2 separate regions of the Homo sapiens genome follow, and region 1 is linked to region 2. Evidence: promoter capture Hi-C in human tissues and cell types (Jung and others, 2019). All regions are on one chromosome and are shown on one strand. Each heading gives the region's core, a stretch centred on a gene start or on the middle of the fragment in contact. The rest is flanking DNA. Distances are from core to core; before and after follow the strand shown.

What was found. Contacts are between HindIII fragments. The study calls those that stand out against the background at their distance.
Region 1: a contact is called between a fragment that was not itself captured here and the fragment with the promoter of DNAJC11 in region 2, in 1 of the 25 tissues and cell types used here (liver).

The regions. Positions count from the first base shown.
Region 1 is chr1:6,660,735-6,667,562 of GRCh38, forward strand. All of the region lies in intron 4 of DNAJC11 (DnaJ heat shock protein family (Hsp40) member C11), which reads right to left. Among named protein-coding and RNA genes, the nearest start is that of DNAJC11, 38 kb to the right of the region's middle. The HindIII fragment of the contact is 5,021 bases long and covers 1-3,794 here.
Region 2 is chr1:6,700,405-6,707,616 of GRCh38, forward strand. It overlaps DNAJC11 (DnaJ heat shock protein family (Hsp40) member C11), which reads right to left and starts at 1,412. Exons shown (of 16, transcript NM_018198.4): 1 at 1,325-1,412. The coding sequence starts at 1,396. RefSeq lists a silencer at 1,199-1,648. The HindIII fragment of the contact is 19,207 bases long and covers 1-3,645 here.

The sequences.
Region 1 (6,828 bases), core at 34-2,533, 40 kb before region 2:
CTGTTAAATGTTATTTTGCAGTTTAATCCCTTCATTCTTGTTCACTGGGCTCTTTTAGAACCTTCTGCCTTGGGTCAACTGTGAATGTGATAAACACGTCTTCACTGACATCACTCAGAAATTCTGAGCCTGAGTTACAGCCTTTCTCCCACAATGAGAAACTTCTTACCAGGTAGGAAATGATGTATTTGTACTCGTTGAGTAGAATCAGTTGTTTATTCAGCCAGGAATGTACCATTCTAAATTCTTTATTTTTTGGTTTCAAATCTTCTTAAAAACATGTAAAACATTTAACTGACAAATAGAGACTGCACACGTGCCAGGTGTACAGTGTGCTGATTTGATCCACGCAGACACTGTGTAGTGATGGTCACAATCACGTTAACACATTCACCACCACCCAGGTGGAATGATTTTCATGTTTATATTTATCTGGCCATGAGGGTAACATAAGAAATTTCTGTCAACTGCAATCTCAAAAGGAACTCTTTACTAACTGAAAATTCCACCAAAAGAGGTGATACGAGGCAATGTGAAATTCACCTGTTTTATAACTGGTGAACCCAGCATGGCACTCATGACGCTTCCCACAGAATCACTTTATCTCAAATGGAAGTCAGAGCCTGTCCTCCCCGTATAAACAGTAGTCTTTAATTCTGAAACCTTGTTTGTGAGCGATTATGCTGACATGAGGGGGTGAAAACAGCCCTCCGACGGATACTCATTTCAAGACAAACAGCTGTTTTACCTTTGAATCCCTCTATGCCTTCTATCCCGATTGCCAAGACCACTCTTCTTCTCCAGGGTTTCAGTTTCATTATCACAGTGCTTTCCCAGACCTGATTAACCAGGCTCTGGTCCCTTTTCTCCTTACAAGACAACTTCTCACGTTCTCCAATTGCAACAGCAGCCCATTTCTGCAGACGGTAAATTGCCCCTTCCTGCCACTACGCACAACAAACATATGGCTTAAACAACCCTTCTTCTGCCCCATCATCCTCTCAGCCAAGTCCAGGCAGTTTCATGACATCAGAATCACTTCTGCAGAACAGACTGAAGTCATAACCATGGGCGACTTTGCTGGCTACGGTTATTAGCCAGGGCAACCCCAACATCCTTTAAAAATAATCAAGTGATGCACGCTTACATCTTTATGAAAACATTTTGGCATTTAAAAATATTTTTATGGTTACATGCCTTCCTTGATACGTTATTCAGATGGGGTCTCTCTCTGTCACCCAGGCTGGAGTACATCTTGAAGGCTGGAGCCAGGCTGGCACGATCCTGGCTTACTGCAACCTCCACCTCCAGGGCTCAAGCATTCCTCCTGCCTCAGCCTCCCGAGTAGCTGGGACTACAGGAGCACGCCACCATGCCCAGTTAATTGTTTTTTGTTTTTTGTTTTTTTTTTTTGTAGAGATAGGATTTCACCATGTTGCCCAGGCTCTTGCTACATTATTTTTATTTATTTATTTAGAAACGGAGTCTTGAGCTTGTTGCTCAGGCTGGAGTGCAGTGGCGCGATCTCGGCTCACTGCAACCCCCGCCTCCCAGGTTCAAGTGATTCTCCTGCTTCAGCCTCCCAAGCAGCTTGGATTACAGGCGCCTGCCACCACGCCTGGCTAATTTTTGTATTTTTAGTAGAGATGGGGTTTCACCATGTTGGTCAGGCTGGTCTCAAACTCCTGACCTCAGATGATCCACCCACCTCAGCCTCCCAAAGTGTTGGTGAGAGGTGAAGCCAGCTGGACTTCCTGGGTCAGGTGGGGACTTGGAGAACTTTTCTGTCTTACAAATGTTACCAATCAGCACTCTGTAAAAACGCACCAATCAGCGCTCTGTCGCTAGAGGGTTGTAAATGTACCAATCAGCACTCTGTAAAAACGCACCAATCAGTGCTCTGTGGCTAGCTAGAGGATTGTAAATGCACCAATCAGCTCGCTGTAAAAAGCACCAATTAGTGCTCTGTGGCTAGCTAGAGTATTGTAAGTGCACTAATCAGCACTCTGTAAATGGACCAACCGGCACTCTGTAAAATGGACCAATCAGCAGGACATAGGCAGGGACAAATAAGGGAATAAAAGCTGGCCACCCCAGCCAGCAACAACCTGCTCGGGTCCCCTTCCACACTGTGGAAGCTTTGTTATTTTGCTCTCCACAATAAATCTTGCTGCTGCTCACTCTGGGTCCGCACCACCTTTAAGGTAACACTCACCGCGAAGGTCCATGGCTTCATTGTTGAAGTCAGTGAGACCATGAACCCACCAAAAGGAATGAACTCTGGACATATTGGGATTACAGGTGTGAGCCCCCATGCCTGGCCGATACATCATTTACATTTTTTTCTAATAAAGCTGAATTGTGTCTCTCAGCTATTACACAAACCATGCTGATGATGGAGTTTTCTAGATCAGAGAGGTCTTGCCAAAGAGTGTATATCAACCTCTGTAATAGCAAAAATGGCCAGGAAATAATGTAAATCTCCATCAAACTATTTTGTCATAGGGTCAAAAAAACTAAAGCAATATATGCCCGCAGAGACAGTCAAACTCCTTTGCCCCCACACCCCCAAACAAACCTAACTTAATCATCTGCTCCACACAGGATCTAAACAAGATCACGAAGGAGGCAGCAATGAAGTCGGACAAGCTGCCTGGGATCAAGTTGCCTTCTAAATATGCTCAAAGTGGCTGCCCTCCACAGAGGGAGAAGATTTATGGGTATTAAGGAAAAAAGGAATTAAAATAATCAATACGAAGTGAATACAACACAGAACGACACTGTTACATGATCTTAAGTCCTTAAAATGCAAGAAATGCGGATGGATTATGCAAATAAAACAGAAATCCGAAGATGGCAGGAGGATGCCCAGGGTGGTCCAGTCAGGTCTAGTTTCGCATACTGCTCTCAGGTATGAACCCACGTCCTGCCCAGCCACCAATTCTCTCCCTGACGCCAGTTCAATGTGGAGGGCCCTAAAGACACTGGGACCCCAGCAACCCAAGGGTGGCTTTTTCCAGCAGGACATACAGACAGGAATTTACTCCCACAGGGCAAAGCAAAGGCAGAAAACAGGTGATTAGAGCTAAGGACTGTGGGGTCCAAAGACTCAACCCAGAAAGCGGGCCTCCCATTTCATGGAGGCAGAAACTGGACTAAGAATGCAGAAGGGACTTGATCAAGGGCACAGACAGGAAGGTGGAATCTGAGTCTGGACGCAGGGCCCTGGACACCAAGTCCAAGGCTCTCCCATGCTGCCTCCCATGGATGTGCCTGTGTTCCTGCATGTGTGTGTGTGTGTGCATGCACGTGTTTCATCAGCTGGAGCCAGCAGGCAAAGTGGACACACGCCGGGGCTGGGGATTTTACACGTTCCTTCCTGGGCACCATGGTGCCTGGTAAGGCACATTCCACACTAGTCCATATCACAGTCAGCCATACTGCAAACAGCACCGGGCCTGGCCCCAGGCAAAGGCTGCAAGAATGGTTCGAAGGCCATTTTCTTTCTTTTTTTTTTTTTTTTGAGACAGAGTCTCACTCTGTGGCCCAGGCTGGAGTGCAGTGGTGCGATCTCAGCTCACTGCAAGCTCTGCCTCCTGGGTTCACGCCATTCTCCTACTTCAGCCTCCTGAGTAGCTGGGACTACAGGCGCCTGCCACCACACCCGGCTAATTTTTGTATTTTTAGTAGAGACAGGGTTTCACCGTGTTAGCCAGGATGGTCTCGATCTCCTGACCTCGTAATCCACCTGCCTCGGCCTCCCAAAGTGCTGGGATTACAAGCGTGAGCCACTGCGCCCGGCCTCAAGGGCCATTTACAAATCCCAACTCACAGGTCCCACCATTCCTGACCAAGCCAAGAATTTCCTCCTCAGTGTTGAATGAAACACCACCACCACATTTAGTTCTGAACGTCATTTTGGTACCAGTACCACTTTGCATTTATATAGCAAGATTATCTTTCCCTAATAAATTAACATCTATTTCATGTGTTTTCAGTCTTTTCACAACTTGGCACAGTAGTCAGGACAGACGTCCTCATTTTACAGAAGAGAAAAGGGAGCACTGTCAAACGGCTCACTCTGTGTCCTGCCTCCTGCTGGCAGCTGTACCTTCTAACCTGGGCTTTTCCTCACTAGGCCTTTTTGCTTGGTAGATACATCAATCTACTGGAAATCCCTACCTAATCTGCTCTTATTGACGAAAACAGAGAGAAATATGCACCCGCGTTTCAGGCGGCAATATCACGCACGGGATACAGCCTGCAAACCCCTCTGAGCTGAGGTCCTCTGTGGGGGGTCCAGCTGACAGGTTGACCTCTAAGTCATCAAAAGTGTCCTTCTGTTTTTGTTTAAGACAGGACCTTGCTCTGTTGCCCAGCTGGAGTGCAGTGGTGCAATCACGGCTCACTGCAACCTTGAACTCCTGGGCTCGGGCAACCCTCCTTCGTCTGCCTCCCAAGTAGCCTGGACTACAGGTATGTGCCACTGTGCTCAGCTAATTTGTAAATATTTTGTAGAGATGGGGGTCTTGTTATATTGCACAGGCTGGTCTCAAACTCCTGAACTCAAGCAATCCTCCTGCCTTGGCCTCCCAAAGTGCTGGGATTACAGGCATGCACCACCACGCCCATCCTCCATGGTCTCCTTAAAGCAGAGATCACCCCTTTCTTCTCAGGACAAGGATGTTTGCTCATCTTGAAAGGCAAAAAAACCCCTCAGAAATGGAAAGAAAGATATACCTCAAATCCTCTCCTTAAAATGCTGGACAGCCAACATCTGGTTATCACTCAATATTTCTGATTAGAAAATGTTTTATGTATTTGGAAGCAGTTTTATGGAAGTAGCAAAGTATAGGACATTTTAAAAATCACTTGCATGCCTGTGTGAGATGGTCACAGCTGTGCTCCCTCATTCCACAGAAACATGGCCTGCAGACACATTTGCATAGAGTCCCAATAAGCAACTGCCACACACCCCCAGATGGCCGATTTGATCATGGGACACGGATGCAGGATGATAGTGAGGTTCTCTTTCCCTTTCACTGCTCCTAACACAGCAAACCTCCAGCCAGAACATCAAAAACACCAAAGGAACAGCCTGCTCTTGCCAGGCACCCCCACCTCCCCCATCCCACCTCCATCTGCCAATACCGACCTTCCAAGCCAGACCTCCCTCCGGGCACCTGGCTGGGAGATCCAAGCAGGAACCATGAGCACAGCTCAGGGCACCTCGGAGATTTTCAACTCTCCCAATTATCCTAAACTCCCTGGCTCGGTTCACCCAGGGTTTTGATTCTCTACCTCCATCTGACCAAAAGGTAACCCTGCACTTCTGTTGAGGGGGAGAGTGAGTAGATGGGAGCAGAGGTGTTACCATTTTCAAATATACACTTTTTTCCCAAGAGAATTAAATCATTTATTGATTACACATGATAATGAGTGATACACAAGCTTCATTCCCATCCATAATTTTATCTGGTCAGATATACTTTGAAATGTGGGATTCAAAGAGATGGACATGTTCTGGATATATGGTCCTTTAAATGCTGTATGGGTCTTAAATAAACTGCTTTCCGGAATGTATTTCATCAGAGGTTTATCTTACTGTGCATCCCAGTTTAAGCCAGCATTTGTTTTTTTTCTTTCTTTTCTTTTTTTTTTTTTTTTTTTGAGATGGAGTCTCACTCTGTTGTCCAGGCTGGAATGCAGTGGCATGATCTTGGCTCACCACAACCTCCACCTCCCTGGTTCAAGCTATTCTCCTGTCTCAGCCTCCCAAGTAGCTGAAATTACTCGGGAGGCTGGTGGCCATGCACCACCATGCCTGGCTAATTTTTTTGTATTTTTAGTAGAGATGGGGTTTCACCATATTGCCCAGGCTGGTCTCGAACTCCTGACCTCAGGTGATCTGCCCGCCTCTGCCTCCCAAAGTGCTGGGATTATAGGAGTGAGCCACCGCACCCGGCCTATTCTATTCCTTTACAAGGTTTAAAGAAAATAATAATGCTACTTATAACTTTGTATGGCTTCTGCTCTCCTTCCAACAACGTTGATGATTTGACACAGATCATGGGAGAAGAGGCTGATGGAAGACCGGGGAGCTCCCAGCTCCTTATCATGACAGATACAGGCTCTCTGCCAGGCCATCCTGGCCACAGTGATAGGGTCTGGCCATTGAGCCCTCTTTTTAAACACAGCTGAACAGTACACCGGGCCATGTTTCATTAGCCATTCAGTGCAACTGGAATCTCAAAGTGACCAAGCTATCCTACTTGCCACAGAGCTGGGGCACACGTGCAGAACAACCTCCCCAGCAAACTGAAAGGAAAAAGAGAGCACACTTAGCATTGAAAAGTAACTCTGACTCAGTATTTAAAGGACTTAAACTCCATCGGTGATCTGGGACACCGATGCTGCTCAAACAACCCAGTGACCGGTGGTCACGGCACCAATGCCCTGGGGTGATGTGAGCAGGGACTTCTGCTCAAGGCCATGTGGACATGCCCTGAGCCCTCTGCATTATTTGGCTCTCCGTATCCTAACGGGTAAGCAAGGACTTCTGCTGCCTCAATGCTTAGGTGGTTAGGTGGCTGTCCTCTGCCCTGCCTGCCTCTGTCCTCTGATTTCCAGTGTCAAGGACTTGGGCAGCACAGTTGGAGGAAACAGCCTTCAGTGACTAGCCTGTATATCTGCTTGGCGAAACTCCCAGACTTCTGGAAAAAACAGGGGACTGGTTTTGTCTTCCCTCCACATGGTACAAAACCTCCTGGAGATGAGCAGCAGTGTGGCTGATGGCTACCAGGGAGGTGTTTTCCAGAAAGATACAAC
Region 2 (7,212 bases), core at 162-2,661:
CGTGACACTCAAGGATACAGTACCAGAACTAGCAGCTTTGTAGTCCAAGGACTGGTAAGGTAAGGTGACAGACTAGCATGGAGCTCACAAGCTGGGCTCCAGAGTCAGACTGCCTGGGTTGAGTTCAGGCTCTTGCACTTTCTAGTAGTGTGACTTTAGACACACTACTTAATCTCTCTATGCCTTGGTTTCCTCAAGTGTAAATCAAGGGCTATCATAATACTTACCTTAAGAGCTATCCTCAGAATTAAATGAGATAACAGTACAAAGTTCATTCAGCATAGTGGTCCCACACAAGATAAGTTTGTATTATTAACATCACATAGACTAATATTTACTGACAACACACACTGAACCCGCTTTGGTTAGCATAGCCAAACTTGGCTAGCTTTCATTACCACTGGAAAACCTGAGAGATGGAATTAGGAATTCTCTGGCAGGGCTGAAAAGTCTGGACCCATCGGCTTAAAGAAACTGATCCACCTCATGACCTGACCCTGGAAGCCTTCTCGCCCTTCACACCTATCTCAACTCCAGACTAGTCAAGAACAAAGGAGTGTAGTGGGGCCCTACTACTGCCAGGCTATGTGAGACTCTCTCATGTTATCTTTTATTCGTTGAGGAGACAGGGTACAAGTGCTTGGTGTGAATGTTGAAGCTGTTGTTAGGGCACCACTTTTCTGGCCTAGGGCTTCTTCCTAATCTGCAGCCTCCGAGCCGAGGGTCTGTGTCCCGGAGGCTCTGCCTGCAATTTCTGGACATCGGGTCCAGGGGAATGAAAGAGGGCATGAGACGCATGCCTCTGAGGCTGGACCCACTTCAGAGGCAGAGCGTCCCCACGAAAGACTCGGGAACCGGAAAAAGCCCTAAGGACGTTCCCTAGTGGCCTTGACCTTGGTGGGTGAGACTCAGTTCGCCATCCTGCTGGCGGCGGGCGATGACACAGCCCCTCAGCCAGGACGAGTATGTGGGCTGAGCGCGAGACGGGGTCTCGGAGGACTGCTAACCCCACTACGGTGGCCTCCTCGGGGCCCCCGTTTCCTCTTGAGCGTGCGGGGGCCTCTGGCCCTACCCGGACACAGTGCACGCGGCGCACTGGCCTTCAGGAGCTGGGGCGGAGGCTGGCCCCGGAACCCCCGGCGGGAGGGTCTGGGCGGTGGGGACGCCTCCATCGGGCGGCTGGCGTGCACGTCGCCGGGGTCACGCGGCCTCCCCGACGGACCCGAGCCTCCCGTGGCGGGGGTGGGGCGGCCACCGCCAGCCCGGCCCTCCCGAACGACCGGGCTCGGCCTCAGCCCCCAGAGCGTCCAGCCGCTGGCCTCACCTCCCTGCGCACGTTCAGCAACGAGTAATAGTCTTCATTGTCCAGCTCCTCCTCGCTCAAGGCCGTCGCCATCTTCGCAACCTTTCACCCCGCCAAACCGGCAAGGCCGTGCTCAAGAGGGGCCAGTGATCCGCGTCAGGGACAGCGCGGGCCAGCCCGGCTGCGCCACAGCGGCCCCTGGCGGCCCGGAGCCGTCCGCGCCCGGCGGGAGTGCGCCTGCGCTTTGCGCCCCCGCGCGGCCTAGGGCGGGACGCGGCGCCTAGGCAGCCCTGGCGGGGTGACCACGCGGGTGTCTCTTCGTGCTCCCAATGGACGCGTGGCACGCGGCGTGGCTGCGTCCTCGGGGGCCTGAGATCCAGCCAGGACTCCCTAGGGCTTTTCCTGTACTAGAAAGGGAAACTTTGCTTTTTTTTTTTTTTTTTGAGACGGAGTCATACTCTGTCGCCCAGCCTGGTGTGTGTGCAGTGGCGCAATCCCGGCTCACTGAAGCCTCCACCTCCCGGGTTCAAGCGATTCTCCTGCCTCAGCCTCCCGAGTAGCTGGGACTCCAGGCGCGCGCCACCACGCCCAGTTAATTTTTTTGTATTTTTGGTAGAGACACGGTTTCACCATGTTGGCCAGGCTGGTCTGAGGCTCCTGAACTCAGGAGATCCTCGGCCTCCCAAAGTGCTGGGATTACAGGCATGAGCCACCGCGTCCTGCCTAGAAAGGGAAACTTTGAAGTCACCTCCAGGAGATTGTCATCCTCTGGGAGACAAACCCCTGTGATACCACCTGTTACCCCACTGGCCCCAAACTCCTGGAAGAAGCGCGAGGTGCCCCCAGTGCAGGGTGCATCCGGATCCTAGATATCCCCCAAATGACATTTGTTCCTACCTCCATTGTCTTTTCTCTTGGCCACCCAGAAGCCTTCCTGCCCAGAACAGGCCTCCTCATTTTAGTTATTTGTTATTGCTCTAATTTAGGAGCACCTGGCCATCTTTTCTGCTGCTTAAATGACAAAGCAATAACTATTTGGTTCCTGATATAATTGTCTCTGGCAGGCATGTGTACCTGCAGTCCCTACCCCAGAGCCATTCTCCTGTAAATTTCTCCCTTATAATTTATCGGTGGAGTCTAATTGATTTCAACCTGGTGCCTGCTGTTTGGTGCATTATTAAAGATGTCTTGGTTACAACAATCTAAATAATTTAAAGGTCTTCGAAATGACGCCATTGTCAAGGGAAGGTGGACAGCAGCCCACTCTTGCCACCTGTTTGGTTCCCGCTGACCTGCGCAAGTCTCAGAAACCTTTGTTGTTCCTTCACTAACCACCAGTCCATAGCCATCCCCGTTGCCCTTCATAAGCAGGTCTCCTGGGAAGCCCCGAACACCTGTCTGTGGATTTGAGAGGCTGATTTCTTTCTCTTTCTAATTTTTGGCCAGATGTGCACCATCTGGGCCTGTGTCTCATCCCTTCCAAGTTGCCCAGCCCTCTTAGGATCTTTTGGCATGAGACACTTCGGTGTGCTGAGACAGATTGTTCGGGTGGGTTGAGTCAGCCTGAAACAAACTGTCAGCCCAGGTTGTAAATTAAGGGCTATTTCTTTAGTTGTGTGAAGCTTCTCCACAACAGCTTCCATGGTCCATCAGCTCTTCCAGCAATGTTATGGGCTTTGCCTTTTTCTCCTTTGCAGAGAAAAGAGCTGTGGTTAGGGCCAAACTGCATGCTGACATTTGACAGTCTTTAAGAATTTCTTTCTTTTTTTTTTTTTTTGTTTGAGACAGAGTCTCACTCGGTCGCCCAGGCTGGAGTGCAGTGCCACGATCTTGGCTCACTGCAACCTCCGCCTCCCGGGTTCAAGCGATTCTCCTGCCTCAGCCTCCCAAGCAGCTGGGACTACAGGCGTGCGCCATCACGCCCAGCTAATTTTTGTATTTTTAGTAGAGACGGGGTTTCACCATATTGGCCAGGCTGGTCTCGAACTCCTGACCTCGTGATCCACCTGCCTCGGCCTCCCAAAGTGCTGGGATTACAGGCGTGAGCCACCGCACCCGGCCAAGAATTTCATACAGAGAGACTGGGGGTAAAAACAACAATGTGGAGACATTCCTTTTTCCCTTAGGTTTTTTTTTCTTTTTTCTTTTTTCTTTTTTTTTTGAGATGGAGTCTCGCTCTGTCGCCCAGGCTGGAGTGCAGTGGCACGATCTCGGCTCACTGCAAGCTCCACCTCCCGGGTTCATGCCATTCTCCTGCCTCAGCCTACTGAGTAGCTGGGACTACAGGCGCCTGCCACCACGCCTGGCTAATTTTTTTTTTTTGTATTTTTAATAGAGATGGGGTTTCACCATGTTAGCCAGGATGGTCTTGGTCTCCTGACCTAGTAATCCACCTGCCTCGGCCTCCCAAAGTGCTGGGATTACAGGCGTGAGCCACCGCGCCCGGCCTCCTTAGGTTTGTAGACATTAATTGGGCCATAATGCTTACTTGGGTAGAGAAGTTCTTTGCCATCCCTCCTCTGCTTTGGAAAACACAGCCTCTAGGAATTATATAAATGGAACATAACATATGTTTCACTACGCCCAGGTCTGTGTTTCTATGATTGAGAATGACCTGGTTTTTATCACCACTCAAACAAGATAAATAGTGACTCAGGAATGCTCTGTGGCTGTCCTCTCTTGGGCCCACGAGATTTTGTGTTATGGTTACTTGGAAAGTGGTGGTGATAAATAGAAAGCTAACTTAGATGCTCCACAGGCTTGAGGAATGTATCTGTTTCTGAGGCTGGCTCTCTCGTTTCTCTCCTCCAAAACCCTAATCTTCAACGGGCAAAATAATGGAAACCAAAGGCAGTACAAATTTATAAGTTAAAAACGCACATCCAACAAACTACTTACGCCGAGCAACTGACAAAACCCAGCTGCTTTAACTCATGCCTTGCACTTTGTTTTCTTTTTCTTTTCTCTTTCTTTTTTTTTTTTTTGAGACGGGGTCTCCCTCTGTCACCCAGGCTGCAGTACAGTGGTGCAATCATGGCTTGCTGCAGCCTCCACCTCTTCAAGCTTAGGTAATTCTCCCACCTCAGCCTCCATAGTAGCTAGGACTACAGGTGCCCGCCACCATACCTGGTTAAGCTTTGTATTTTTTGTAGAGACAGGGTCTTGCTACATTGCAGGGCTGGTCTGGAACTCCCGTCTCAAGTGATCTGCCCGCCTCAGCCTCTCAAAGTGCTGAGATGACAGGTGTGAGCCACCGTGCCTGGCCTTTTGGTTTCTTTTTGTTGGGTGAAACCACAAAACAGTCTGTAACATAGCTGTAAAGCAAAACTTAATAGGTGACATTTAAATATAAACTGATGTAATATATTTATGTAACTATACATACATGGGCATATGTATTTTATATTTACGCAAATATTATATGAGATATACGCATTTATGCAACTGCTAACAAATTCTCTCATCTTTATTTTATTTATTCTTTTGAGACAGAGTCTCACTCTGTTGCCCAGGCTGGAGTGCAGTGACATGATCTCTGCTCACCACAACCTCCACCTCCTGGGTTCAAGTGATTCTCATACCTCAGCCTCCCGAGTAGATGGGATTACAGGCATGTGCCACCACGCCCAGCTAATTTTTGTATTTTTAGTAAAGACAGGGTTTTGCCATGTTGGACAGGCTGGTCTTGAACTCCTGACCTCAAGTGATCTGATCACCTTGGCCACCCAAAGTGCTGGGATTACAGGTGTGAGCCACTGCACCCAGCCAATTTTTTTTTTTTAAGGTGGAGTCTCACTCTGTCTCTCAGGCTGGAGTGCAGTGGCACAGTCTTGGCTCACTGCAACCTTGGCTTCCTGGGTTCAAGCGATTCTCCTGCCTCTACCTCCCAAGTAGCTGGGATTACAGGCGCCTGCCACCATGCCCAGCTAATTTTTGTATTTTTAGTAGAGATGGGGGTTTCGCCATGTTAGCCAGGCTGGTCTCAAACCCCTGACCTCAGGTGATCCGCCTGCCTCGGCCTCCCAAAGTGCTGGGATTACAGGCTTGAGCTAGCATACCCGGCCCCATCTTTAAATAGTAAACATAAGAATATTTACCTCCACCATGATTCATATGCAGAATGACCCCAAAACATTTTGGCTTCCAGCACAGCTACTCTGTGTAGCCGCTCAGGAAGGTTTCTCTGTTAATGGCTCAGTCCAGTTCTGGGACCCTCCCTATAGCACTGGAGGTAGGTTGCCAGATGAAATACACTATGCTCAGCTATATTTGCATTTTAGATGAACAATGAAGAATTTTTTAGTATAAGTATACCAAGGACTGGGTGCAGTGGCTCATGCCTGTAATCACATCACTTTGGGAGGCCAAGGTGGTCAGATCTCTTGAGCCCAGGAGTTCAAGACAAGCCTGGGCCACATGGTGAAACCCCCAACTCTACACAAAATGCAAAAATTAGCCAGGCATGGTAGCACATGCTTTTGGTCCCAGCCACTTGGGAGGCTGAGATGGGAGGATCACCAGAGCCCGGGGAGGTCGAGGCTGCAGTGAGCTGTGATAATGCCACTGCACTCCAGCCTGGGTGACAGATTGAGACCCTGTCTCAAAAAAAAAACAAAACATATATATATATATACATACACACACACACACACACACACATCACATTGTATGGGGATGTATACATATACTAAATAACTACTTTTCTGGGAATCCTGCTTTATTTTTTTATTTTATTTTATTTTTTTGAGATGGAGTCTTGCTCTGTTGCCCTGTCTGGAGTGCAGCGGCATGATCTTGGCTCACTGCAACCTCCGCCTCCTAGGTTTAAGCAATTCTGGTGATCAGCCCACCTTGGCCTCCCAAAGTGCTGGGATTACAGGCGTGAGCCACCATACTGGCCAGAATCCTGTATTTTGATTTGTAACCCCAGCTGGAGGCCTTGCAGCCCTTCCCCCTTTTCCTGAGTAACGCTCCTGAGAGCAGAGGTGGGCAGCCTGCCCCACCCCTTCTATAGCCAGGCTGAATCCACACCCTCTCTATAATTCAGGAGGAAAAATTACCTATAATCTTTTTATTACTCCTTTGTCACTGAGTCCAGACTGGGATTTACTGCATGCTTGCCATTCATAGCCTGCCCGTCCTCTCCCTCATGAGCTCTGACAACCCTGCTAAAGGAGATAGGGAAAAAAGATCCTTTGCTTAAGGAAAGAAGGGGAACTTTGCCAGCATTCAATAATTAAATTTTCTTGATGTTATCTTCTTTCTGAGTATTCACTGACTAGTCTTTAGCCAAGATGATCATTACAGAAGGGTCGGGATACCCCGGGGGAAGAGCCACACCTGCCTCTTTGGAGATAGCCGCCCAGAGAGGCTGAGAATCTAACGCCACTCAGCATTTTACCTGCAATGTCATTCTTCCGTTGTGCCTGTGGGACTGGTTTTCACTGCTTGGGACTTTAGGTCCTTAGTCTCTATGTATTGATCTATCAAAATCCATCAGATCTCTTAGGGGTACCCCATTCCAGTCTGCTTTCTTGGCCGTTTCAGTGATACAGTCCTTTGTCCTTTGGCTCTGCCCAAAATTTATGTTGTCTCTGTTGTCAACCTTTCTATTCTCACCCAGGCTGTCAAGAGTAGGTGGAGAAAGTCTTGGAAAATACAGAGTTCGTGCTATCTAACTTCAACTGTACTGCAGTGTTACCTGGCAATCTTTTCATTTTCATCTCATATTAATAGCCTATACATTCCCCCCACCCTAGTGTCTATTCCTCTTATCCTTAAGTCTGAAGACAGAGTCCTGAAATGGGCACTAGAGTCTCAGCAATTCACAAGAGAGAAATGGGTGCTGTGCTAGTGAAAGTAACACTCAAGGCCGGGCGCCACATGAACACTCAGCGTGGCACGGGGCA